Regions from separate parts of the Homo sapiens genome. Here regions 1, 2, 3, 5, 6 and 7 are each linked to region 4. The links are contacts of gene promoters, found by promoter capture Hi-C in blood cells and fetal thymus (Javierre and others, 2016). All regions are on one chromosome and are shown on one strand. Each heading gives the region's core, a stretch centred on a gene start or on the middle of the fragment in contact. The rest is flanking DNA. Distances are from core to core; before and after follow the strand shown.

What was found. The method cuts DNA at HindIII sites, captures the fragments that hold promoters and counts their contacts. A CHiCAGO score of 5 or more calls a contact.
Region 1: a contact is called between a fragment that was not itself captured here and the fragment with the promoter of CHSY1 in region 4, in 1 of 17 cell types (naive B cells). The highest score is 5.6, in naive B cells.
Region 2: a contact is called between a fragment that was not itself captured here and the fragment with the promoter of CHSY1 in region 4, in 2 of 17 cell types (neutrophils and naive B cells). The highest score is 5.4, in neutrophils.
Region 3: a contact is called between a fragment that was not itself captured here and the fragment with the promoter of CHSY1 in region 4, in 5 of 17 cell types (neutrophils, naive B cells, total B cells and 2 more). The highest score is 10.2, in neutrophils.
Region 5: a contact is called between a fragment that was not itself captured here and the fragment with the promoter of CHSY1 in region 4, in 7 of 17 cell types (naive B cells, M0 macrophages, M2 macrophages and 4 more). The highest score is 8.7, in naive B cells.
Region 6: a contact is called between a fragment that was not itself captured here and the fragment with the promoter of CHSY1 in region 4, in 3 of 17 cell types (M0 macrophages, M2 macrophages and monocytes). The highest score is 7.0, in M0 macrophages.
Region 7: a fragment that was not itself captured here is called in contact with the fragment with the promoter of CHSY1 in region 4 in 5 of 17 cell types (M0 macrophages, M1 macrophages, endothelial precursors and 2 more); the score reaches 8.1 in M0 macrophages.

What each region holds. Positions count from the first base shown.
Region 1 is chr15:101,660,060-101,663,788 of GRCh38, reverse strand. It overlaps TARS3 (threonyl-tRNA synthetase 3), which reads left to right. Exons shown (of 19, transcript NM_152334.3): 16 at 1,973-2,077. Among named protein-coding and RNA genes, the nearest start is that of TM2D3, 9.5 kb to the right of the region's middle. The HindIII fragment of the contact is 290 bases long and covers 1,153-1,442 here.
Region 2 is chr15:101,727,976-101,731,525 of GRCh38, reverse strand. No RefSeq gene overlaps it. Among named protein-coding and RNA genes, the nearest start is that of TARS3, 5.3 kb to the right of the region's middle. The HindIII fragment of the contact is 3,967 bases long and covers 1-3,550 here.
Region 3 is chr15:101,634,928-101,638,919 of GRCh38, reverse strand. It overlaps a transcript of TM2D3 not described here. Among named protein-coding and RNA genes, the nearest start is that of TM2D3, 15 kb to the left of the region's middle. The HindIII fragment of the contact is 6,033 bases long and covers 1-3,992 here.
Region 4 is chr15:101,249,918-101,253,354 of GRCh38, reverse strand. It overlaps CHSY1 (chondroitin sulfate synthase 1), which reads left to right and starts at 1,307. Exons shown (of 3, transcript NM_014918.5): 1 at 1,307-2,218. The coding sequence starts at 1,899. RefSeq lists silencers at 843-1,222, 1,393-1,702, 1,893-2,322. The HindIII fragment of the contact is 7,881 bases long and covers 1-2,507 here.
Region 5 is chr15:100,929,068-100,932,514 of GRCh38, reverse strand. All of the region lies in intron 2 of LRRK1 (leucine rich repeat kinase 1), which reads right to left. Among named protein-coding and RNA genes, the nearest start is that of LRRK1, 11 kb to the right of the region's middle. RefSeq lists an enhancer at 2,244-3,197. The HindIII fragment of the contact is 4,271 bases long and covers 1-3,447 here.
Region 6 is chr15:100,949,519-100,953,048 of GRCh38, reverse strand. All of the region lies in intron 2 of LRRK1 (leucine rich repeat kinase 1), which reads right to left. Among named protein-coding and RNA genes, the nearest start is that of LRRK1, 32 kb to the right of the region's middle. The HindIII fragment of the contact is 3,125 bases long and covers 221-3,345 here.
Region 7 is chr15:100,896,823-100,900,674 of GRCh38, reverse strand. It overlaps ALDH1A3 (aldehyde dehydrogenase 1 family member A3), which reads right to left. Exons shown (of 13, transcript NM_000693.4): 8 at 2,490-2,592; 9 at 1-100. All of the region lies in intron 1 of ALDH1A3-AS1 (ALDH1A3 antisense RNA 1), which reads left to right. Among named protein-coding and RNA genes, the nearest start is that of ALDH1A3, 19 kb to the right of the region's middle. The HindIII fragment of the contact is 5,242 bases long and covers 1-3,852 here.

The sequences.
Region 1 (3,729 bases), core at 48-2,547, 410 kb before region 4:
TGGGATTACAAATACATGAAAGCAAGAGATAAAATTATTATTAGTAGATGTTAAAATATAGAGAAATCCAACAGAATCAAATGGAGAAATGGGCACTAATAATAATGGAAGGTAAAAATGCAAAAATCAATTTGCCTTCATAATGTTAGCAATAATCTGCTAGGAAATGCAATGGAAAAAACATTTCAGAAGCAACAGCAACCACAAAATAGAAAATATGAATAAACTTAATAAATATAAATATAGTCATGCATCCCCATAAATGTAGTCATGACAGGGATATGTTTGGAGAAATGTGTCGTTAGGCAATATCATTGTTGTGTGAACATCACGGAGTGTACTTACACAAACCTAGATGGCATAGGCCACTACACACTTAAGCTGTATGGGATAGCCTATTGCTGCTAGCTCCAAACCTGTGCAGAATGTTACTGTACTGAATGCTCTAGGTACTTGTAACACAGATCACTAGATGATAGGAATTTTTCAGCTTCCTTGGGTGCAGGACACCAGCGTGGCTCATGTATACATATGTAACAAACCTGCACATTGTGCACATGTACCCTAGAACTTAAAGTATAATTTAAAAAAAAATTTTTTTCAGCTTCTTTATAATCTCGTGGGACCACCATCATATCTGCAGTCCATTGTTGACCAAAATGTCATTAGGCAACACATGACTATAGATGTTATTTATAAGCATACGCTATAAGTTTTTCTCCAAGACCACAAAAAAGAGTTATTTAAATGAAGATTCGTACCACACTTTGGAATGAGAAGAATCAACATTGTGAAGTTATTCTCTTCAAATTTATCTATTAATCTAATATAATTGTAAGCAAATCCACTGGGGTTATTTTGGGGGAATTTGGCATTCATTCCAATGTTTATCTGATAGCACAGATGTGTAATCATAGTTTATGTCACTATTTGCTCTTCTTAAGTCTAGACATGATTCAAAGAAATGATGGGACAGAAATTTTGGATACCCAGGCTCTGTGAAAGGATCAGTTTGCTTCTCTTTCTTCCCTACACAAAATCAACATGATGGGATATTCAGGAATATTTCATACTGGTTTCAATTTTTGGGATGAATTTCTTCATATACCTGCATAGGAATGGACTCAAGCCGCTCACCCCTACCCCAAAGCTTCCTGTAGGGTCCAGACAGAGAGTTTTGCCTGCAGTTATTCTATAATGGCTCTTAGCAGAAATGGTTGGCAGTGATGATATCCAGTTACAACTCATTTGAAGTAGGTTTAATGAATGGGTTTCTCTGTTTTTGTTTGTTTTATTTTATTATTTATTTGTTAAATTTGTTTCATTTATTGTAGTAGTAGCTAGCTGGTATAATTTTTAGATAAAAATTTATCAAAAGAACTTTGTAAGTGTCGCATGTCACATTTGTTGCAATAATGTGAAATTTATCTTTCTGAGAAGCTTGTGCTTGTGCAGAGATCTTGAAGTGGCTTACTTCATTACAATTAAGTCATCATTTGCTTTTTTCATTTTTTTTTCCTAAGGGGAAGAGGGAATAATTAAATGTAAGATACACCTCATGAGGGTTTCAGGGAATTTGACCAGTGGACTTCAAGAACACATATCAGGAACATTTTAAAAATGAAGATTATAATGTGGGAGATAGTGGCAAGAATGGGGGTGCATTTGGATCAGATGAGATTGGCTGTGAGTTGACATTTTGTGAAGCTGAGAGAGGGTATGTGGAAGTTCATTATACTCTTCTCTCTACTTTTGTATATGTTTCAGTGCGCTCTAATAAAAAGTTTTTAAAATAAAAGAAAAAAGATTAGCAAAGAAAGCAATGAGAAAACAAGACAGTCACAGAACAAATAAGGTTAATGGAGAGATCTGATATCACTAATCTAAATCTATTCTCAAAATTAAATATAAGGCTAGAAGATAGTTATTGAATCTTAGGAAAAGACTTAAATGTATAATTTTCATTTTTTAGTAAGGATGGGGATGATAAGAAGAGACCTGTGATCATTCATCGAGCCATTTTGGGATCAGTGGAAAGAATGATAGCCATTCTTTCAGAAAACTATGGCGGAAAATGGTAAGTGATATGGAAAAGAAAAACTATATGTCTATTATTCTTTTTAATTTTTATTAATTTACTCATTTTTCCTTTTTAAAAATATTTCTATTCTTAAAAAATCATGTGTAAAAGAAAAAAGTAGTAACAAAAGAAAGGGCCTTTCCTGCCTTGTAATTAGCAATTGTCCAAACAGCAAATAAAGAATTCTTATTCGATTTGCCAGATCAGAAAATAAAAACTAAGGGAGAGTGGCATAAAACTGTACCATTTACCTTTTGGGGGACTCGGTAGAATTAAAGTTATCTTTTTACCTGTTTCAAGCCCTTCAGAGATCTAGTTGCTGTCCTGAAAACATGTGACCCACACTCCTAGGTACCACCTCTTGCCCTCCAGCCATCCTTCCTTCAACCCATATTGTTTGCCTTTGGGGTTCCCTACAGCCACTGAGGAGGAAAACATGTAAACCTGATTCATAAATGGCACAAACTCAAAGAGGATGGCTCAGCAGCACAGCCCATTTAGGATGACAGTGGGGAAGGGAAGTGTCCTAAAGTGCAGAATTTTGAGTGGTGCATCTTGTGGTCTTTTTTGAGTGGTGCATCTTGTGGTCCTTTTTGAGTGGTGCATCCTGTGGTCCTTTTTGCCCGGAAGGAAGAATGGCCGGAGATAAGGAGTTACATGGATGCACAGGCTCTAGTTACTGCTTTGGCCACAGAGTCAAAGATTTAGAACTAATTAGATTGAAAAACAAATTACATAGATTTGGGAAGCAGAAATGTGGATGATCACTCAGAATGGGCCAACAGAGGTGGTATTGCCACCAAAAGGCCCCCGCTGTTGAGGAATTTTTCAGTATTCCAATACAAGAGGACCCATTCTGTTAAAATCAGCTGCTTTTTCCCCTAGTTGTTGCTCAATGGCTCATGGGCAAAGTGGCCACTGGTGGATAGGCATGGGCTCAAAGACATGGACTTTGCCTCACTAAGTTCCATCTGGCTACATCTCTTCTGAGAATTCAGGTTGCCATCAGTCAGTGATTAATTGTGATCCCCCGGGATGGTACCATAACCTGGGGTAATAGCCAGTGGTCTTGTAGCAGGTTGATTACGTTGGATCCCTTTCATCATGTAAGGAGCAATGCCTCATTCTCACTGAAGAGAGACTCACTGTGGATTTTGCTTTGCTCTTCTTTGCTGCCATGCTTCTGCCAGTGGCACCAAATATGTACTTAGGTGCTGCCAGGAACACAACAGTGCTTCTGACTATGAAAGAGATTTTATAGCAAATAAGTAAAGCATTGCACTGACATTAAGGGATTCACTACTATCACCATGCATTCAGAAGCAAGTGGCTTTACTAGCAGTTATAGCACCAGCTGGCAGACAACATCTTGTGATGATGTATCCTAGTATGTGGAAATGCTGCAAACCAGCAACCACCTGTGAAATTTCTACCTCCCATTCCATTTTTAGAAATTGGCTAAGCATCTGCTCATGCAGTTTAGCTCTCTCTTCAGAAACTACTGCCCCCACTGCTACTATTGCCGGGCACAGTCCCTGCAGCTCCCACTGTGGACACTGGGCACCGGATGATACTGCTAGGGTCACTGCAACCAGTTCCTCCAAAAGCTCCATGTCTCTGCATCACCTTTCCTTGCCATAATGGATTCC
Region 2 (3,550 bases), core at 460-2,959, 480 kb before region 4:
CAATCTGGAGTAAGGTATTGCATTTAATCATCATGACTTTAGTACCATTTAATCTGGAGCATTCCAGATTTTGTCTTTCATTATATAAACATTTTTGAAGAATTCAGTTTCTCCCCTCCACCGTTAAAAACAAACGTTCCTCATTTTGTGTTTATGTGCTGTTTCCTTGTGATTAGATTGGGGTTATGTATTCTTGGTATAAATTCTGTACAGGGGTGTTATACCTTCTTTAGAATATCACATCTGGAGGTACATAAAGTCCACCTGTTCCTCATAGGTGATGTTCATTTTGATCACCTGATCAAGATATTGCCTGATTTCTCCATTGTATAATTACTTTTTGTTTTCTCCCTTGCAACTGGTTAACAGCCTGTGGGGGAACATTTTATGTCCATGCCAGTATCCTGCTGCTTTTCAGCACTGCCCCCTAGATTGAGCATGATGATTCTTGTCTGATCCAGTCCTTACTATGAAGGTGGCAAAGTGATGGTTTTCTAATTTCCCATTTACCTGTGTTTGCCATTTAGTCCATGGCATAGACTATAAACTGAGCTCTGGCTTCTTTCCCATTTTTTTCTATTATTGGTTGGACTTGTGAGTTCCCATATTTTTTAATGGTTTACAATTCATTACTTAATTATTTTTGAAGTTCAATTGGTTTGGCTGGTGGGATCCCTTCAAGCTGGTTCCTGTGCCCTTGTATCATGTTCCCATCATTTTTGTGGAGAGCGCTTTGTTAATTTCCAGCAAAACAAAGTGCTCTACGCTTATCTTGAACTTACATGTCTGATATCATTTGGATATCTGTCCCCTCCAAGTCTCATGTTGAAATTTCACCCCCAGTGTTGCAGGTGGGGCCTAGTGGGAGGTGTCTGGTTCATGAGGACAGATCCCTTATGAATGGCTTGGTGCCGTCCTCGACAGATCCCTTATGAATGGCTTGGTGCCGTCCTCGACAGATCCCTTATGAATGGCTTGGTGCCGTCCTGGACAGATCCCTTATGAATGGCTTGGTGCCGTCCTGGACAGATCCCTTATGAATGGCTTGGTGCCGTCCTGGACAGATCCCTTATGAATGGCTTGGTGCCGTCCTGGACAGATCCCTTATGAATGGCTTGGTGCCGTCCTGGACAGATCCCTTATGAATGGCTTGGTGCCATCCTCGACAGATCCCTTATGAATGGCTTGGTGCCGTCCTCGACAGATGCCTTATGAATGGCTTGGTGCTGTCCTCACAGTAATGATTGAGTCCTCACTCTTAGCACCTGTGAGAACTAATTATTTAAAAGAGCCTCACATCTCTCCCCTCTCTCTTGCTTCTGCTTTCCTGTCATGTGACTTTTGTACATGTGGGCTCCCCTTTGCCTTCTGCCATGAGTGGAAGATTCCTGAAACCCTCACCAGATGCAGATGCTGGCACCATGCTTCTTGTACAGCCTGCAGAAGTGTGAGCCAAATATACCTCTTTTCTTTGTAAATTATCCAGCCTCAGGTATTTCCTTGTAGCAACATAAATGGACTAAGTCAATGTCCCAGCTCTGGAATAGGCCTTTCTGCCAGGAACCCTTTAATGAGGAAAGGTATTAGAGGTCGGGACCTTTATCTCTTGGTTATCTACTTGTAGATAACCAAATTCATTGTTTTCTAGTTTATTTTCTGTTTCTTTTTGTGATGATAAGCAGATATATGCATGTTTTCATTTTCTCTTTTTTCTTATACAACATGTAACATACTACATGTGTACATTACTGTTTTTTTTTTGTTTGTTTGTTTGTTTTGACGGAGTCTTACTCTGTTGCCAGGCTGGAGTGCAGTGGCGTGATCTTGGCTCACTCCAACCTCCACCTCCCTGGTTCAAGAGATTCTCCTGCCTCAGTCTCCTGCATAGCTGGGACTATAGGCGTGCACCACCACGCCCAGCTAATTTTTGTATTTTTAGCAGAGACAGGGTTTCACCATGTTGGCCAGGATGGTCCCAATCTCTTGACCTTGTGATCTGCCTGCCTTGGCCTCTCAAAGTGCTGGGATTACTTGCGTGAGCCACTGTGCCCAGCCTGAACATTACTTTTTTTGCTTCATAAAATCTCCTGGAAATCGTTCCATATCAGTTCAGAGATCCTCTTAATTATTTTTTTAACAGCTTCATAGTGCTCCATTTTTTGTGTGTACTATAGCTTATTGAACCAATCTCCTATGAGGTACTTTACAATCACAACTCTTCCGTTGAATTTGTGTGCATATGCATTTTTGCCTTCTTGTATCTTCAGAATAAATTTCTAGAAGTGGGATTGCTGGGTTGAAAAAGAAATGTATATTTAGTGTTATTAGAACTTTGTCATTGCTTTATTTTGCTGTCATTTTTCTCAATTTTTCAATTGAGAATTTATTTCCATTCTTTTGTTTTTATCAATATAGGTGTTAGAGTTATGATTTTTTTCTGATTACTGATCTGTGTATTGCATAGATTTGTAGTATTTTCATTATCACTATTTTAAAGAAAGTCTGTACTTTCCTTTTTCATTTCTCCTTTCAATAAAGAGATGCTTAAGAGTTTTAAAATTTCCATGTGAAAAGGCTTTTTGTTGTTGTTTTATTTTTAATTTCTAATTTTATTGCATTGGGGGCTGAGAGTGTTGTACCTAATATTTCTACTTTATGAAACCTACTGAGGTCTTTCTTGAGCTCTACAAATGATTAATTTATATGAAGAATCTATACATTTGTTTAAGAGGAAGGTGCATCTTCCATTTTCAGGGTATAGTTTATATAGATAGATATTTATATATACATATTGATAATGTGAATATATTCAAAATATCTACTTTTTAATTATATTGTTTGGGTCTTTTACATCCTTACTTTTTTGTGGGGGCACTTGAATGTACTCAGAGAGTGGTTTGTTATTTTCCTTTTTTTTTTTTTTTTTGAGATGGAGTTTTGCTGTTGTTGCCCAAGCTGGAGTGCGATGGCATGATCTCAGCTCACCACAAACTCCACCTCCTAGGTTCCAGCAATTCTCCTGCCTCAGCCTCCCAAGTAGCTGGGATTACAGGCATGCGCCACCACACCCAGCTAATTTTTTGTACTTTTAGTAGAGATGGGACTTCTCTATGTTGGTCAGGCTGGTCTCGAACTTCTGACCTCAGGTGATCTGCCCACCTCGGCATCCCAAAGTGCTGGGATTACAGGCATGAGCCACCACACCCAGCCTTGTTATTTTCCTCTTATTAGTGTGTTTCTCTTTCTCCTTTAGTTTCCTGTAGTTTTTTTCAAATTACAGGTGTATAGATATTCATAATTGCTATATTTTCATTGTGGAATGTGGCACTTAACATTACAAAATGTCCTTCTTTGTCTTATTTAATGCTTTTTGGCTTGAATAATTTTTTAGTATATGTCTCAAATATTGCATGGGACATATTTATATAAACATTATTTTTTGTTTATCTGAAGTTCAAATGTAAATGTGCACTGTGTATTTTATCTGGCAATCCTAAATACAGAAAAGTCCTAGAAACAAAGACTGCTGCCAGGACCCACATTGTGTGAT
Region 3 (3,992 bases), core at 1,354-3,853, 380 kb before region 4:
AAGGAGGAATTGCTGGGAGTAAGCTAAACACCTAAAAGTATTGCTGAGAATTTTTAAAGTGGTAGAGTGCAGCTGGATTGCAGCATCTCCCTTCTCAAATACTTAAATGATAAACACACTGTAGGAAAAGCCAGCACCTCCTTCCTGCCCAAAACCAGCAAACAAATGAAAACTCCACAGCGAACAAGCAAAAGGATACAGCCAAATGCCAAAAACGTCAAAAAATTGTGAATACAGGGAAAAAAAATTATTGCTCAGGTGTGTAAGATTACTCCCGCAAATGGCCCTGCTGGCGCAACAAAACTCAGAAAGTCTCACTGGAGGCCAGACGTGGTGGCTCACACCTGCAATCCCAGCACTTTGAGAGTCCGAGGCGGGCAGATCACCTGAGGCTAGGAGTTCGAGACCAGCCTGGCCAACATGGTGAAACCCCCGTCTCTACTAAAAATACAAAACAATTAGGTGGGCGTGGTGGCAGGTGCCTGTAATCCCAGCTACTCAGGAGGCTGAGGCAGGAGAATTGCTTGAACCTGGGAGGCAGAGGCTGCTGTGAGCCGAGATCATACCATTGCACTCCAGCCTGGGCAACAAGAGCGAAACTCTGTCTCCAAAAAAAAAAAAGGTGGGGGGGTCTCACTGGTGAGGAAAAACAGGTTAATTCGGAGAAAGAGAGGTATCTATATCTTTCTCCTGTTACTGCTGGGGGAAGTGAAAAGGGCTGCTGGGAAGAGACCAGTGAGAGAGGGCTCGTGAACAAACAGGAGGGACTCTGATGGGTTCAGGGGTTCCCTGCTGAACCAGATAAAGGATCCAAAGCCTGGGGTGACCCCCAGGGGTCATTGCATCATTCCCTGGGGAGGAAACTTTGATTCAGGACATTTAGAAAATCCTAGTCAAGAAACCAGAGACCAGATATTCTAGCAAAGATATAGTCTCAGCTGAGCTTTTCCCTGCCTCACTCCTAGCTATCAGGGCACGGAATGTAGAATAGAACACAAAATACAACTTGCAAAATGCTCGAAGAGAAAACCAAGGGAATTTGTTCACATATTATGAAGTTGTCCTTTTACATGAGAACAAAATGAAATGACTCACCACCCACTAGAATGACTATAATAAAAGGCATTCTTAACCTGCCTGCGCAACGTAGTTACGCCTGTCTCTAAAAAAAATAAATAAAAATAAGCAGGTGTGCGCCTGTGGTCCCAGCTACTTGGGAAGCTGAGGTGGGAGCGATCTTTGAGCCCAGGAGGTGGAGTTACAGTTAGCTACTGAGGACTAAACTCTGACCTTTTTTCCCTCTTGCCCAAATTCCTATCTAAGGGGCTGGGGAGTTGCACCTTATAAAATCTCAAAGCAGTTTTATTTAACCCTATGTGATGTGGCTTACTTTCCAACCTGACTCTGGCATAACATCACATGACAGATAAATCAAAATATTTTAACCCCAAATATGTTTCTTTGCCATATCTTGAAATGGCCCCGCATAGCTGTCTCTTGGAAAAATCTACATTCTGCAAAGAATCCCCTTCCCTTTCAGGTCTTTTCCCTGACACAGCAGAGAATCAGTCACAAATCTGGCACCTTTTTCAGTCTAAGAAACATTTCCAATCTATTCTCTCTGAAGCTCGCAATCTGGAGGCTTCATCTGCATGATAAGAACCTTGGTCTCCACAATCCCTTATCATAACCCAGACACTCCCCTCTGTTGATTAGAGGTCTTTAGACAATAACACTTTCAACCAATTGCCAATTAGAAAATCCTTGAATCTACCCATGATCTGGAAGCCCCTGCTTCGAGCTGTCCTGCCTTTCCAGATGGAACCAGTCTGCATCTTACATGTATTGACTGGTGTCTTATGTCTCCCTAAAATGTATAAATTCAAGCTGTAGCCGGACCACACCGGGCACATGTTCTTAGGACCTCTTGATACTGTGCCTCACTCATATTTGGTTCGGAATAAATCTCTTCAAATATTTTACAGAGTTGGACTCTTCATCGACACTGTGACCACACCACTGCACTCCAGCCTGAGCCACAGAGCGAGACACTGTCTCTAAAAAATAAAAGAAAAAGAAAACACAATAACAAGTATTGATGAGAATGTGGAGAAATTGGAACCTTCATATATTGCTGGTGGGGATGTAAAGTGATGTAGCTGCCCAGGAAAACAGTCTGGCAATTTGTGAAAATGTTAAACATAGAGTTACCATGTGACTTGGGGAATCTTCTAGGTATACACCCAAGAGAAGTGGAGATATGTTGTGAAAGTTGTCAGCACCAAAATGGGGTCACTTAGGTCAAACCCTAGCAAAATGAATCCGGGAGGCCCTGAAGGAGGAGTACTCACGCACATGTACCTATGATAAGAACTATTACAAGGACTCCCTGGAAACCATAAACACTCCATGTTAAGCTGCTGCTGTGAAGACATCTCCCCAGCAACAGCCAGCGTGACCAATGAGGAGCTATGAGCTTCAACAGTCAAGAGTTTTTGTTTCAAACCAGCTTACATGACTTTCTCCTTTTTGTCTTTATAAAAGTTTGCCTTGACCCCAGCATCTTTGGGTGTTTCTTGGTTCATTGTGGCATGGGTATCTTGGATTGCAATCCCCCACCAATCCCAGATAAACTCCTTTGGAGAGCCTATCTGTCTATTGTTATTTTAGGTTTTAGGACATACACTAAAAAACTCGTTTACAGCACCATTATTCATAGTAAAAAAGTGGAAACAACCCAAATGTCCCACTGATGAATAATACATAAACAAAATGTAGTTCATTCATATAATGGAATACTATTTCATCACATAAAGGAATGAAGTACTGATACACACCATAAGGTGAATAAACCTCAAAAACACGGTGCTAAGGGAAGAAAGCCAGTTACACTTTAAGCTGGTAACCTTTACAGCATATAAATTACTTCTTAATAAAGCGGTCTTAAAAAAAAAGAAACGGCTCAGTAACCACACATACATATGATAGAAGGGGAACGAGAGAACCCAGATGAAAGGAAAGACAGGAAGAAACACAGTCTGCGAAAGAAAGATGAAGAGTTCATCTTGAGGAAAATATAATCCAAGAAACACAGGAAAAGCCCCTGCGAAAACTCTGTACTATAGAACACTTAAGCGTATTTCTTCATTCAGCGAAAGTACTGAGCCCCTATGTGGCATGCACCCTCCTGAGCCCTGGGGATTTAGCACTAAGCTAAGTTCTTCCTTTCATGAAGCATGTCATATTCTTGTGCACAAAAATATAAGCACAAAGAGATGATTCCACTGAACCCCCGCCCCTCCCCATCAAGCAGGGAACGTTGATTTGTCCACACTGGAATAGATGCTTACTTTGAACACGGATTCGCCTTCTCTAGCTTTATTCACTGTTTCACACAAGATTGCTTCTGATCAAAGAATTTATTTCACAGTAAAAGAAATGTGGCACCAAAAGTGAGTTCATGCTGAGAAAGTGGAAAATGGCCCTGATAGTAGCCAGGCTGTGATTTTAATCACTAAATATAAAAAATGCTCACAGATTGCAAACAGTATTCCTTTTTTCTCCCTAGTTTCTTAAGGTAGATGCTTGGGTCACTAATTTGAGACATTTCTCCTTTTCTAATATAAGTATTATAAGTAATGCTATAAATTTCCGTCTGAACTTTGAGAACATTTCACAAATTCTATTATGTATAATTTAAAATATTTTATAATTTCACTTTTGAATTCCTTTTGGTCAAAAGATTTATATTATTATTATTGAGACAGGGTCTTGCTCTGTCACCCAAGCTGGAGTGCAGAGGCACGATCTCAGTTCACTGCAATCTCCACCTCCCAGGCTCAAGAGATTCTCCCACCTTAGCCTCCCGGGTAGCTGGGACCACAGGTCTGCATCACCATGGTGGGCTAATTTTTAAATTTTTTTCTAGAGGTAGGGTCCCACTATGTTGCCCAGGCTTGTCTTGAACCCTTGGGCTCAAGTGAGCCTCCTGC
Region 4 (3,437 bases), core at 58-2,557:
CTTTTTCGATGGTTTTCGAGCCTGTAATTCATGGTTGTATGTTCTGTATTTTTCCCAAGACCACTGCTGGAATCCTGTATTCACTGCATAATGAGTATTTTATTTTTAGATGTGGATCACCCCTTAGGGAGGGGCTCTGTGGGAAGGTAGGTAATGAACTATTTTTAATATAAATCACAAGTGTCAAAGAAAGTGGTAATATCCAAAGAATAAACAAGAGTGACCACCATTCAGGTGCCGAGAAGGTATCTGAAGCTCCCACAGGCATTTTAAACTGTGTGATAGTATTTCAACCATTTGGTCAACAATGAAGAAAGATCCAAGGATTGCCCCAGGCATGTGTTTATTTGATTCAATGCAGGTAACTTCTCAGGCCCAGGGAAACACTTTGCCCTTCAAAAGTTTCATTAGAAAACCCCAATATACTGGTGACTAAGTAACAAGACTGAAACTCTACACAAACTTTCGTTGTATGGAGACCTCCGCTTTTGCTGCCTTAGCTGAAGTATTGCAGAGGAAATGTATAAAACTTAAAATCCAGAGTAGAGGATCTGGGACCCAAAATCCGTCTTTAGAAATCCACGGCACTTTTACAGACGGACTATATTAAAGTAGGGACAAAGTCCCAGGCTGGGGGTACTAGCCGGCTATCTGCCCACACAGTATGTAAATGAAAGTAGGGTTTACCATCCAGGGCATTAACTTCATTTTCCTTGTCTTCGAGATCCATTAAATGCTAGTACTGTATGAGAAGCGTGGACCTTAAGTATTAAAGATGGCTTTTTCTTCTTCTTCTTCTTATTTAGCGTAGAAACTAGCAACAGGGAACAAGGTAACTGAATTCACGGTCCACTCGCAGGCGCGCACGTCCCCAGGGCTCCGGGACGGCTGTTCCCTGCGTGCGGCCGCGGGACTGCGGACAAAGCTGCAGTGTGGTCGGGAGCGCGGGGCCGGGAGCGCGGGGCCGGCCCGGCGGCAGGAAGGGCGTGGCCGTGGGGTGCAGCGAGGACGGCCCGTGCGGGAGGAACGTGCGCAGCGTGGAGTCTGGGGGCCGAGAAGCCCCCACTGCAAGGCTGGCTCCCGAGATTCGCGCCCGGGCGCCGCGGTGCGGGAAGCGGCCGTCCTCGCGGGGACGCCCTTGCGCCGGGTGCTAGGTGCGGATCACGGGCAGCTCCGGCCCCGCGGGCGCCGGGCGGGGGCCCACGCCCCCTCCGCCCGCCAGCTCCAGTCGCAGACCGCGCGGGCGGGGCGCCCGAGAGGGCTTTTTTTTTTTTTGGTCAAACTTCGGCCACGTGAACCGCCCCTCATTCACTTTTGCGCCAATCGCGCGGCGCGGACGGATCCCGAGAGGGGCCACGGCTCGCCGCCGGCGGGGCCACTTCATAACGCGCCGTGCGTGACGTGAGGGGCTCCTGTTGCAATGGCGAGCTAAGCCGGAGGATGTGCAGCTGCGGCGGCGGCGCCGGCTACGAAGAGGACGGGGACAGGCGCCGTGCGAACCGAGCCCAGCCAGCCGGAGGACGCGGGCAGGGCGGGACGGGAGCCCGGACTCGTCTGCCGCCGCCGTCGTCGCCGTCGTGCCGGCCCCGCGTCCCCGCGCGCGAGCGGGAGGAGCCGCCGCCACCTCGCGCCCGAGCCGCCGCTAGCGCGCGCCGGGCATGGTCCCCTCTTAAAGGCGCAGGCCGCGGCGGCGGGGGCGGGCGTGCGGAACAAAGCGCCGGCGCGGGGCCTGCGGGCGGCTCGGGGGCCGCGATGGGCGCGGCGGGCCCGCGGCGGCGGCGGCGCTGCCCGGGCCGGGCCTCGCGGCGCTAGGGCGGGCTGGCCTCCGCGGGCGGGGGCAGCGGGCTGAGGGCGCGCGGAGCCTGCGGCGGCGGCCCGGCGGGCGGAGCGGCGCGGGCATGGCCGCGCGCGGCCGGCGCGCCTGGCTCAGCGTGCTGCTCGGGCTCGTCCTGGGCTTCGTGCTGGCCTCGCGGCTCGTCCTGCCCCGGGCTTCCGAGCTGAAGCGAGCGGGCCCACGGCGCCGCGCCAGCCCCGAGGGCTGCCGGTCCGGGCAGGCGGCGGCTTCCCAGGCCGGCGGGGCGCGCGGCGATGCGCGCGGGGCGCAGCTCTGGCCGCCCGGCTCGGACCCAGATGGCGGCCCGCGCGACAGGAACTTTCTCTTCGTGGGAGTCATGACCGCCCAGAAATACCTGCAGACTCGGGCCGTGGCCGCCTACAGGTGAGCCCCTGCTCCCCGGGCACCGCCTCCTGCGTCCGGCATCCCGGCGGCCGGCATCCCGGGTGCTCTCCTGGCTCTCGCCTCCGCCCGCTTCCTAGGCCCTTCTTGGGCTTCCGGCGGGATCGGGTTGCCTCTCGGGAGACGCCGGGCCGAGGGAGAAAAGATCAGAGGCGGGATGGTGAGCGCGGCGCTCAGGAACATGGCCTTTGGGGTCAGATGGACTAGTGTGGCCTCGCTGGGTGTACCTCTCACCCTGATGAAGGCACTTTAGCCTTTGCAAATCGAAGCTTCTCGTTAGAAGGGCCCGACAGATCGGGTCTCCCTCATAATGTTGGAAAACTCATAGCACAGTACCTGATAGTGGAGGCAGTTGGGGCTGATACTGGATTCCCTAAAATGTGCACCTTTGTCCTTGCAAAGCTGGAGCCCGTGTACGTTAATCTAGTTCTAGAACCTTTCCACATCATACTCTCACATTTCGCAGTTGGAGGCACTCCTATAAATGAAAGAGAATGCCCGCAGCATATTGGACCACACCAGTCTGTTGAGTACAGAGAGAGAGAACCTTGGGGAAAAGCAGTTCTTGGCCCTTGGTAGATTCAGTGGAAAACTGCATTCTGGTGTTAATTAGTTCAGCTTGGTGGTGTATGCATGTTATCCAGTAACTGGGCTCTAGTTGGCCAAATGAGTCATAAAAGCAGCTGGAATTGTGTTCAGGTTTAACAAAGGGATTAGCCAATGTAGTCTCTAGAAGGGAGATGATTTTGGAATGGCTGGCATGGTTAGAATCAGATTTGTATTGGAGTGAATTTGAAGTTGGAGAGGGTTGTAGACTCGATAAAGGGATTTGATGGAAACCCTATATGTGTGAAGTATAGAGACACTTACTGTATGGATAAAGTTTGGGTCTTATCCAGCCACAGAGCAAACCAATGTGGGGAATGGTTTTAGAGCATCAGTTGTCTGGTAATGAAATTTCAGAGCAGCCAGTGCTGAGCCAGGCTAAGCTGGTTGCTGTTTGTTCTTATAACCAATACCTTTACACTTCAGTTTTTAAATGCAGTCTTGGTCAGATTTTTCAGGCACTAGATGTTGTGAGGGGAAAAGCATATATGGTCTCCCTTGCCTTTAAGGGAGAAAGTAAAGGACTGAGAAAGAAGGTGAAAGTGGTCTTCAGTGACTGCCCCTTGAATGGCTTGATCCCCATTCCTGCACATTT
Region 5 (3,447 bases), core at 151-2,650, 320 kb after region 4:
CTCTTAGAAGCAAAAGGTAGAAAGAATCTAAAGACCCTTTAATAAGACATTGATGAAAGATGGTTGGATTCACACCAGATGTGGTGCATATAGAGGGAACTCTGAGACATCCTCAAGGGAAAAAAGTTGTACAATAGTATGTACAACTGAATATGCATGTAAAACCAGAAATATATACAAAGATAACCATACATGTGCTTTGGAAGAGGTTAGGAAGAAAACACACTCAGGCCAGGTGCTGTGGCTCACGCCTGTAATCTCAGCACTTTGGGAGGCCGAGACGAGTGGATCACTTGAGGTCAGGAGTTCCAGACCAGCCCGGCCAACATGGTGAAACACCATCTCTACTAAAAATACAAAAATTTGCTGGGCGTGGTGGCGAGTGCCTGTAATCCCAGCTACTCAGGAGGCTGAGGCAGGAGAATCGCTTGAACCCTGGAGGTGGAGGTTGCAGTGAGCCGAGGTTGCGCCATTGCACTCCAGCCTGAATGACAAGAATGAAACTCCGTCTCAAAACAAACAAACAAACAAAAAGAAAACACACTCAGCTAACAGTGATTACCCATGGGCATGATGGAAAGGGGGCCAAGAATAACTGTGGCTTTCTCTTATCATGTCAATCCACTGTGTGAATTGTGGAATTCCATATAAATAACTTTTTTCTTAACCTTCAGGGAGGAGTCAGGCACCAGGAGAATGCTCATAGTGCACTGTCAGGCAGCGGTTCTTCGCTTGCTTCTTATTTTTGAACCCGTGGGTGCTGGTGAAGGTTGCACAGAGACTGGAGTGACGGCCCACTGGAGCCATTTTTGCCTGGAAGCTGGGGTGGGGGCAGAATGACTGGAGGAGCCCTGCCCTGGCCTCCCGCGCCAGCCCCACCAGCAGATCGAGGCCCTGAACCTTCCATCTCTAACCCTGCAGGTGTGGGCCACCTGTGACCACCCACTTGCCTCTCTGAGTTCACACGGCTGTGTCAAGTCCAAACTAAGCTGCTAACAGGAACTTCAGAGAGCCATTCCTGTCCACTTACATTCAATTTCTAACCTCAAATTTGCATCGTAACATGGCTTCATATTTAAAATAATCGATTAAGATGTTCTCTGCCTTTAAATATCTCTGAGTCACTGAAAAGTTCAAAGTGTCACGTAAGTTATTTTTGTTCTCGGTTCTCCTGAAACGACCAGGTAGGTGATTTTAAGCCAACATTTGGCAATGTGCCACGGCCCCTGGGTGCTGGATGTTGAATGGAGGATGAGAGGATGTCGCCAGGCACAACCCCAGCAGCATTAGCAAAAGGAACTGCAATCCTCAAAAGTTCTTTACAGTTGAAAATACAAGTTCTGATTAATGTGTGCTTCTTTGTGCAGCATGGGGGTGATGAGCTCAGGAAGGACTCTATTGCTTGAGATATGTGTTTCTGTTCGGTTTTCTCGTTTCTTTTTTATGACAAATGTCACCCAATAAGTAGCAAGATGGCTAAGTGGAATCTGGACAAACTGAACCCAAGGGTGGCCTGAATAGTGAAGGGACTCAGAATTGGGACTTCCAAAGAATAATAGCAGCTTCTTATTTTCATTCATCAAACTTTCCAAAAATGTGCGTGCAATTCACACACTCAAGTTTAGACTTACATGGCATTGGGAGTGGTGGGAGGGCTCCATTCCCAGAGAACTAAAGAATTTCATAAAAATCCCTAGTGATGGCTCCTTCAAAGTCTGACTCAGGCAAACCAGGAGGGGTGAAAATCCTTGTCGCTCTGCACAGGGGCCTGGGGAGGCCCACATGGACATCTCCCTGCTCTCAGGCTACTGATCTCTTCATGGGGGCCAGGGCAGATGGCTGGTAAGAAAATCTTCTCTCTTGGTGGCTGAATGCATGCCAAGTGAGCCTGGGCTGCTCCCTAGCAAGCACAGAGGCCACCAGATAGGGCTGCCCTGCACACCCCACATAAAGGAGGCCAAGTCAGGAGCAAGTGTGGGGTGGGGGAGGCCAGGGAGGGGGTGAGGACTGGGGCTCTGGTGAGCTACCACATTCAGGCTTGGGCCACCTAGGATGGGGTGGATCAGTGGGGGTGCTCCTGAAAGCCGGTCCACGGCAGGGTGGGGAAGCAGGTAGGGGCAGCTCTCCCTGTGGACCCAGGTGTGTATGGCCTAATAATTAGCCCACAGACAGACTGAGAAGTCAAAAAACTCTTGGATATCCAAGCGGAACGTGTAAAGTTGCCGGCGGCCTGTCCGTGGGATGGCTTACTCAGCCTAAAAAGGAATCTGCAGGGAGGGCAACACATCTGCTTTTAGTGACTCCAAGAAATGGGTTAAGGGATTCCGATCTGTCTAAATGAATAAAGCCTGGTGCAAAGAGAGCCCCACAGCATCCACTTCCTACCAGAGCTGCCCACAGAAAGGCTGGCGTTGTTTGCTAGGGAGTCAGCTCCCCATTGCTAGAAGTAAGCAAGCACATTCCAGACAAGTAACCAGGAGAAGATCTAAGCCTCAGGTTAAAACGAATGTTCAAAGGCTCATCAAGGGCCTGGAGCATCTGTAGCTGGCCTCTGCTTTGTAAGCATGAAGCACAGCTGTGCTAACTGCCACCTGCATGGATGGACGCACACAGCCACCTCGCCTGCCACCTGGGCCACCAATCAGCTTCCCTGTCCTTCTCCTCACTCATTAAAAGATTCCTGACCAGACGTGGCTGTGCTCCCTGGAGGGGCTGGTGAACTCCTGCAGCCAGGCTGGAATCTCCTTCCCTGCAAGGCCCTGCCTGCCCTGTTTCCTGTGGCTCTCACGGTGTGAACACAGCCCAGCACGTTCAGGCAGGAATCCAACAGGAGGAACAGGTCAGAGATGTGGGCTGGCTCATCACTGGGGATCTGTCCCTCGTAGACTTTCCTGCTGTGGCCTGACAAGAAGGCTGGCTGCCACCCTAGAGGCTCTTCCTAATTTGATCTATTTCCTAGTTCTATTTCTGGAAGGCAGGAAGAGACCCTACTTGAGCAAACCTCTTAGCTCCTATATTAAGGAGTTGTATTTCAAATACAGATTCGCAAAAGCCAAAGGAGAAAAAAACAAGACATTGGAAGTAGCCATGAAACAACCTGGGATTTGAAGAACTTCTGGAATGTTCCTTCTCCTCCTTTGGTCCATGCTGGGTCCGGTGGTGGGCAGTGCTCTGAGAGGTGTGTGACTGTGGCAGGGCTTTCAGGACCGAAGCGACGGCCACTCACAGAGAGCTGGGGGGGCGAGCCACTGCCTGGGTGATGTCTGCTCAAGTTCCACCCACCCTCCGCAATCCAGAAGTCTTCCCAAGTATTCTCCACCTGAATTATGTGGAAGTTTCCTGACTTCTCTACTTTCCAGGACAGCTCTCCTTGGCTGGCGGGACTGGTTTTTCCACTCTGGCTGGTGTCAGACATACTCAGAAGAATGAACATCTAATGACATGTTT
Region 6 (3,530 bases), core at 534-3,033, 300 kb after region 4:
ATATCAAATAATCACATTATATACATGAAATATATAATTTTTATTTGGCAATTATACCTCAATAAAACTGTAAAGTAAGTGAATAAAAATGCTGCTTAATGAGATTAGCCAACATTCAAATGAGTGGCCCTAGAGTTAATTTTGGTCAATAGATTCTGTTAAAAGATCTTGCTTAAAGCATAAGGAATGCCCAGTAATATTCCCAAGTAAGATGTAAGCTTTATGACGCAGACTTAAAACCTGGAGGCAGCCGAGTTAATTGTCTGGTTAATCACCATAAAAATCACTGATGGGAATGATTACTGTGATAAAACGTGGATGTACCTGAAAGCCTGACAAGCATTTGATACCATTTCCAGGGAAAGGTATGCTGGGATTGAATGCTGTCTCCATCAGAGGAAAGAGTGGGCCAGGGCAGGAGTCAGGTCCTGTGAGAAGGGCCCCACAAAGAAGAGTGGGCTAATCAATGGTGTTTGTCCAACTGGATAGCCACATGGAAAAATATATGATCAGATCCGTTACTCCCGTGAAACACCAAGATAATTCCAAATGAATTAGAGATATAATGTAAAAAAATAAAACGATGTAGGCATTAGAAGAAAACACAGGCAAATTCCTTTTTAGCCTGGGAGTGTATAACCCCTTTAACTGTGGCTCACAACCCAGAAGTAATAAAAGATGGATACATCGGTCACATTTAAAAGATCACAGCTTTATTGAGAGATAATTCACGTATCATAAAATTCACCATTTAAAAGTGTACAATTCAGTGGGTTTGAATATATTCACAGAGTTGTGTAACTATCACCGCTTTCTAATTTTAAAACATTTGTACCACCCTGCAAATATACGCTTATACCAGTCAGTTCCCACTTCCTCCTCCAGGTCCCTGCCAACCACTAATCTACTTTCTATCTCTACAGTTTGCCTCTTCTGAACATGTCATATACGTGGAATAATACAATATGGTTTTTGTGACTTAGTTCTTTCACTCAGCATGTTTTCAAGACTTATTCATGTTGTAGCATATATTAGTACTTACTCTTAATAATACTATTATTTTATTATTATTATTATTATTATTTTTTTTTTTCTGAGATGGAGTTTCGCTCTTGTTGCCCAAGTGGGAGTGCAATGGTGCGATCTCAGCTCACTTGCAACCTCTGCCTCCCGCGTTCAAGCCATTCTCCTGCCTCAGCCTCCTAAGTAGCTGGGATTACAGACGCATGCCACCATGCCTGGCTAATATTTGTATTTTTAGTAGAAACAGGATTTCACCATGTTGGCCAGGCTGGTCTCAAACTCCTGACCTGAGATGATCCACCTGTCTCGGCCTCCCAAAGTGCTGGGATTACAGGTGTGAGCCACTATGCCCGGCCTTATTATTTAATTATTAAGTATTAATTCATACTTGCTAGTAATGCTATTATTTCCTTGCTATTGCTGCGTAATATTCCACTGTATGAATAGACCACATTTGTTTATTTATTCATCAGCTGATGGGAGCTTGGGTTTTTCCACTTTTTGGTTATTAGGAATAATGCTACCGTGATCACTTATGTGCAAGTTTTTCTGTGAATATCTGCCCTCAGTTCTCTTGTGTATATACTCAGGAGTGGAATTGCTGGGTCATATGGTAATTGCATGTTCAAAATGTTGAGAAACTGCCAAACCATTTTCCAAACTGCCTGCAGCATGTTCCAGTCCCACCTTCAATGAATGAACGCTCCAATTTCTCCATATCCTGACTACCGCTTGCCATTTTCCATCTGTCTTTCTGTTGTCCTTTCTGTTGGGTGTGAAGTGGTATCTCATGGTGGTTTTGCTTCGCATTTCCATAATGATTAATGATGTTGAGCATCTTTTCATGTGCTGATTGGCCATTTTCACATCTTCTTTGGATAAATGTCTATTTAGTCTGTTTAGACCCTTTGCTCTTTTTTTCTGAGACGGAGTCTCACTCTGTAGCCCAGGCTGGAGTGCGGTGGCGCAACCTCTGCTCCCTGCAAGCTCCGCCTCCCGGGTTCACGCCATTCTCCTGCCTCAGCCTCCCAAATAGCTGGGACTACAGGCGCCCGCCACCACGCCCGGCTAATTTTTTGTATTTTTAGTAGAGATGGCGTTTCACCGTGTTAGCCAGGATGGTCTCGATCTCCTGACCTCGTGATCTGCCCGCCTTGGCCTCCCAAAGTGCTGGGATGACAGGCGCGAGCCACCGCGCCCGGCCTGCTCTTTTTTAAATTGGGTTGTTTTTTTGTTGCTGAATTGTGAGAGTTCTTTATATAATCAGATACAAGTCCTTTAAAGATAAATAATTTGGAAATATTTTCTCCCATTTCACAGGTTCTTTTCACTTTCTTGATTATGTCTATTGAAGAACAAAAATTTTTAACTGATGAAGTCCAACTTACTACCTATTTTTCCTTTTGTCGCTTGTGTTTTTGGTGTAGTATCTGAGAAACTATTGCCTAATCCAAGGTCATAAAGATTTAATCCTGTTTTCTTTTAAGAGTTTTATAGGTTTAGCCATTCTCTTGTATTTTATTTGAATATTAGAATCATCTTGCCATTTTTGTAAGAATTTCAGCTAGGATTTTAAAGAGACTGCATTGAATGCATAAGTCAATTTGGGGAGTATTGCCATCTTACCATTATTAAGTCTTCCAATCCATGAATACAGAATGTTTTTTCATTTATTCAGGTTCTTTTTAACTTCTTTCCACAATGTTTTGCAGTTTTTGGTGTATAAATCTTACGCTTCTTTTGTTACATTTATTCCCAAATTTTTTATTCTTTTGGATACTATTGTAAATGTGTTTTCTTAATTAAATTTTCAGATTGTTAAGTGATAATTCATACAACCACAATTGATTTTTACATTTTGATCTTGCATCCTGCAAATTTGCTGAACTATTAGTTCTAATTGTCTTTTGTGTGTTGTTTAGAATATTCTACGTACAGTATGATGTCACCGGAAAATATAGTTTTACCTCTCCAATTTGGATTTCATTTCTTTTTCTTGTCTTTGCCCTGGCAAGAACCTCCAGTGTAATGTTGAATAGAAGTAGTGAGAGTGGACATCCTTGTTTTGTTCCTGATGTTAGGGAGAAAGCAGTCAGTCTTTCACTATTAAGTATGATGTTAGTTATGGGTTTTTTTTTTGTTAACAGATGCAGTTTATCAGATTGAGGAAGTTTCCTTCTATTACTAGTTTACTGAGTGTTTCTCATCAAAGGGTAGTGAATTTTGTTAAATGCTTTTCTGTGTCTATTGAGATGATCATATATTTTTTCTCCTTTATTCTATTAATATGGATTATTATATTGATTGATGTTAAACCAAGCTTGGAATCCTAAGATAAATTCCACTTGGTCATGGCGTATAATCCTTTTTATGTGTTACTAAATTCGGTTTGCTAGTGTCTTGTTGAGATTTTGCATCTATATTTGAAAGAGGTAGTGGTCTGTAGTTTTCCTGTGAGATCTTTTTCTGGTTTTGGCTTCAGGGTAATACTGGTTTCATAGACTGAA
Region 7 (3,852 bases), core at 319-2,818, 350 kb after region 4:
GAGTAGACCTGCTCCTCCACGAACACCCTGGAGGCTGCCGTGCAACACTGGCCTTGGTTGAAGAACACTCCCTGATGGGCACACTCCACTGCCAAGTCCACTGGAGGGGGAGGGGCGAGGGAGGCGGGCAGAGCGAGAGGAAGCGATTAAGTTGTTAAAGCAGGACTGGTGACAGCTGCAATTCTAATTGCCCACACAAGAAAACAGGCCCCAGGATGGCTGCATTTCAGAAATTAATTTTGTTTGCAGACTTTCCCAAATAGAGAGGAAGGGAGAAAGGATTTTGGGGTCCACCAAGTTTGGGGTTAAATCAATTCCCTGACTGCAGGACTTCTCAGTACCTTTAATATGCTAATAAGTCCAGAGAGTCATAGCACCCTCCATTTCACTTGCCTTTTTCTAGAGGACTCCCCTCCCCTCCCCTTTTTCTAGAGGACTAATGTTTTATAGAATAAACTTCGGTAATTATTGATGTAGGCCCCCTGGCGAGAACTTCTAAAGAAGCCAAAATGTTCCACCTTGAGTAAAAGAAGGGTCTTATTAAGTAAGATAATATCATGTGTGTGACTTAGAAGGGCTGACTAAGTTGCAGAGCTGACATTGAACTAAAACCAGTTATTCAAACCAAGCCAGAGGGTATTTAGAGAATAAGATCTTGGGGGACACGCTTAGTGGATAAGAATGGTATTGGGATGTCATTTACATCTACAGAGGGGTTTCTAGTGTTCAACCGTTGGCTGGTTTCATCACCACCAACCCCCGCACTATTGCTTTCTTAAGAAATGCAGCTTTCCTTTGCATAGAGGCTGGCAGTGGCTCTGGGCATTGGAAGGTGATCCGTTCCAATTCCACAGGGGCTGCTCCAAGGGACTGTGCCCTTGGCTTTGAGAAGGAGGCTGCTCCTATCTAGCTGAGTCATTTGTGGAAGTTTCAGTGGCAGCAGGACAGCACCATAAGGTTTGGGGGTACCTCTCTGCACCCTTGACCCCTGCAGCTGGCTGGGCCAGGTCCCAACTTGGAACTGCCCCTCCTCCGAGATAACAGACTCATTTCCTGCTCCTGACGGAGCTAGGGGTGAGGCGAAGGGGCAGGGGAATGGTGGCTTGTTACCCTTGATGTCTTGCCTGGGATGCTGGTTATGTCAGGATGTAATTTGTGGACTGGCACCGCCCTGATGAGGAGAAGGAGGTGGCTACACAGCATGTTTTTATGACCCTCGTAAGTAAAACCAAGCCCCAAACACAATTAGTCCTGTGCTTTAGCTGCAGTTTTCCTCCCCAAGAGGAGGAAGATGAACTTCAGTGCAGGTGGCGTATCCAGATACGGTGGCACAGGAAAGCAAAACAGGAGTCCTGGCTGTTTGGGACTCCAAATGTGAGTCACAGTGCCAGAAATGCTCCGTGTGGCTCCAAAAACCACTTGCTATTCATAGCACTAATGGTGCTTCCACAAGGGAACACTGACCCAGGCAAGAAATGGAAAGTCCATCTTCACACCCAGCTCCCCTTTCCTTCCTGAGAGCCTGTATCCTCCTCCTGTCCTTTCTCCCATTGTGAAAGCCAGCTGCCAGAAAGGAACTGATATCAGTCATTTACACCTTAGTAAGAAATTGTGCCAGGGTCATTTTTCTTGGGGATATTTGCAATTCCAACCTTATCTGAGTGTGAAGTGAAAGGCTTTGTTCTCCACGACAGGAATTTCTGGCACCCGTGGACAGGTCTGGGAGGCTATTCTTTAAGGCAAAGGTGTTTCAAGGCACTTGGGAAGTCACACCTTTTGATAGCTGACCCTGTCAGCAGGTGAATGAATGCCCGGCCAGCCCTTCCTTCCCTCTTGTGGACATGGCAGCCAACAATAGCATATATTTTAACGCTGTGTCGTTTGGCTGTCAAGACGCAAGCTATCCCCAAACTGCTGGGCAGGTTGCTTTCCCAGGGCAGGGGTGCAGGCCTAGAACCAGGCAAAGCGGGTAATTTGAAGGATCAGTTGCTACTGCCCTCCTCTGATTTATCAGGTCTGAGACACAAGGAAAGAGCACCTCCACTCTTCAGGGATCTTAAAACATATGATAGGAAATGTGACTTGGAGGGGAGAATGAATGACTGGGAGTGGGCAGCACCTGCCCTCCCCACTCCTCCCAGGGGGCTCTGGAGGAGAAGCCAGACCTGCTCCTCGTGACCCCAGCTCTGCAGGAACAGGCAGGTAAACTTAACGCTAAGGCGCAGAAACAGGCAGCCTCTCAGGTGCCACTCAAGCCATATCGTTTTGGCAGTAGAAGGCAGCTTTCTGCTAGAAGTAAAGCTGGCATTTTGATGTCCACCTGCCTGTCTGCGGCTGGCTGACTGTGGGCAGGATGCCCACGGTGGAAGCGTCCCCACTGTGTGTGCACACATCTTACTCTCAGTTGGTTTTGAATTCAGGCCAGGAAGTAGGGGGAGACAGATGGATGCCCTGAAGCCCCAGCAAAGCCCAGGAGGGCAGAGACTCACAGTCAGCGTCCGCACACACGATGCAGGGGTTCTTCCCCCCCAGCTCCAGCGTCACCCGCTTCAGATTGCTCCGGGACGCAGCTTCTTTAACCAGTTTTCCAACCTCCAGGACAGAACACAGATCACAATTTACCTTGGATGTTGCTGAACTTGGCCCAGGCGTAAACATCAGTGAACATTCTGATCAAGCCCGGGTGGCAGTGCCACCACCTGGCTCTCGGCCCAGGCGCTCCAGGCCCCGATGCCGTCCCTTCACTGTCCTGGCCTCTGCCAGCATCTCCTCCCATGCCAGACCATGACATCCTGGGATCCTTGGTCTAAGCCGCTCCACTTACAGGTGTGAGTTAGAGCCTCTGGAAGCCCACACAGCTGGCTGGGAACAGGGCTGCCACCCGCTAACCTGTCCTGGTGCCTGTCCTTCTGAGCCCAGCAGGCTGGTCCAGCCAGTCTGGTAAAGGGCTTCAGGGACCGCAGGGTGACTCTTCTACCTCTCACTAGAAACAGCTGAAATTCCAACAGCCCAGTAGGGGGGTGGTTCTGTGTGGCTCTTTGGTGTGATCTGAGGGAACCTCCAAGTGTTAGAGAAGTAGCGAGGGCAGCCAGCCTTCCGGATGAGAAGGAGCCGATTCTCTGGAAACACACTCTAAGACTGAGGCTGCCGCAGACAGGCAGGGAGTGAAGGGGTGCGCTATGAGCAGAAAAGCCACTCACCAGTCATGCTCAAGGCCCCCACGGGGTCTCTCCCATTGCCCACTGTACCCCTGGAGGGGAGGGCTGGCCCAGCATGACTCGGTGACTTATCTAGGGCAACAAGTAAAGCCCAGCACCACGAACTTCAGAGCTGGGAAGATCCTCAGAGACCAGTGCAGACACGGAGGCCTAGAGCCAGAAGCTAGCAAGGCGCGGCCCAGGCTCTTCCGGGTCTGAGACTGTTTTCTCCAATGCTAAGGTGTGAGCGCATTTTAAACATCAGCAAGCTCATGGGTGATGGCTGAATGAGGTCTGGAATCCATCCACAGGGCAGTGTCTGTCTCCAAGGAGAGTAACAGCATCCACCAGGGCTTGGACTAACTAAGGAGGGGGATGGGGACACTGATTGCAGCGGGTGTTTTTTTCTTTTTTAAGTACAGAAGAAATACTTTCTCATTAAAAGTAATTCCACATAGAGATGTATGTGAATTACAGGGAGAAAGCCTTCAGCTTCCCTCCGGCTCTGCCCCGAGCCCACCCCATAGGTGGCCATCAGTAAGGATTTCTTGGGAATCCTTCCAGATAATTTCTACTTCTACAAGCACACACCTCTACGAATGGGAAAATATTGTGGGTAATTTTCTACCGTTTGCTGTTTTGTGCTTCAACAATA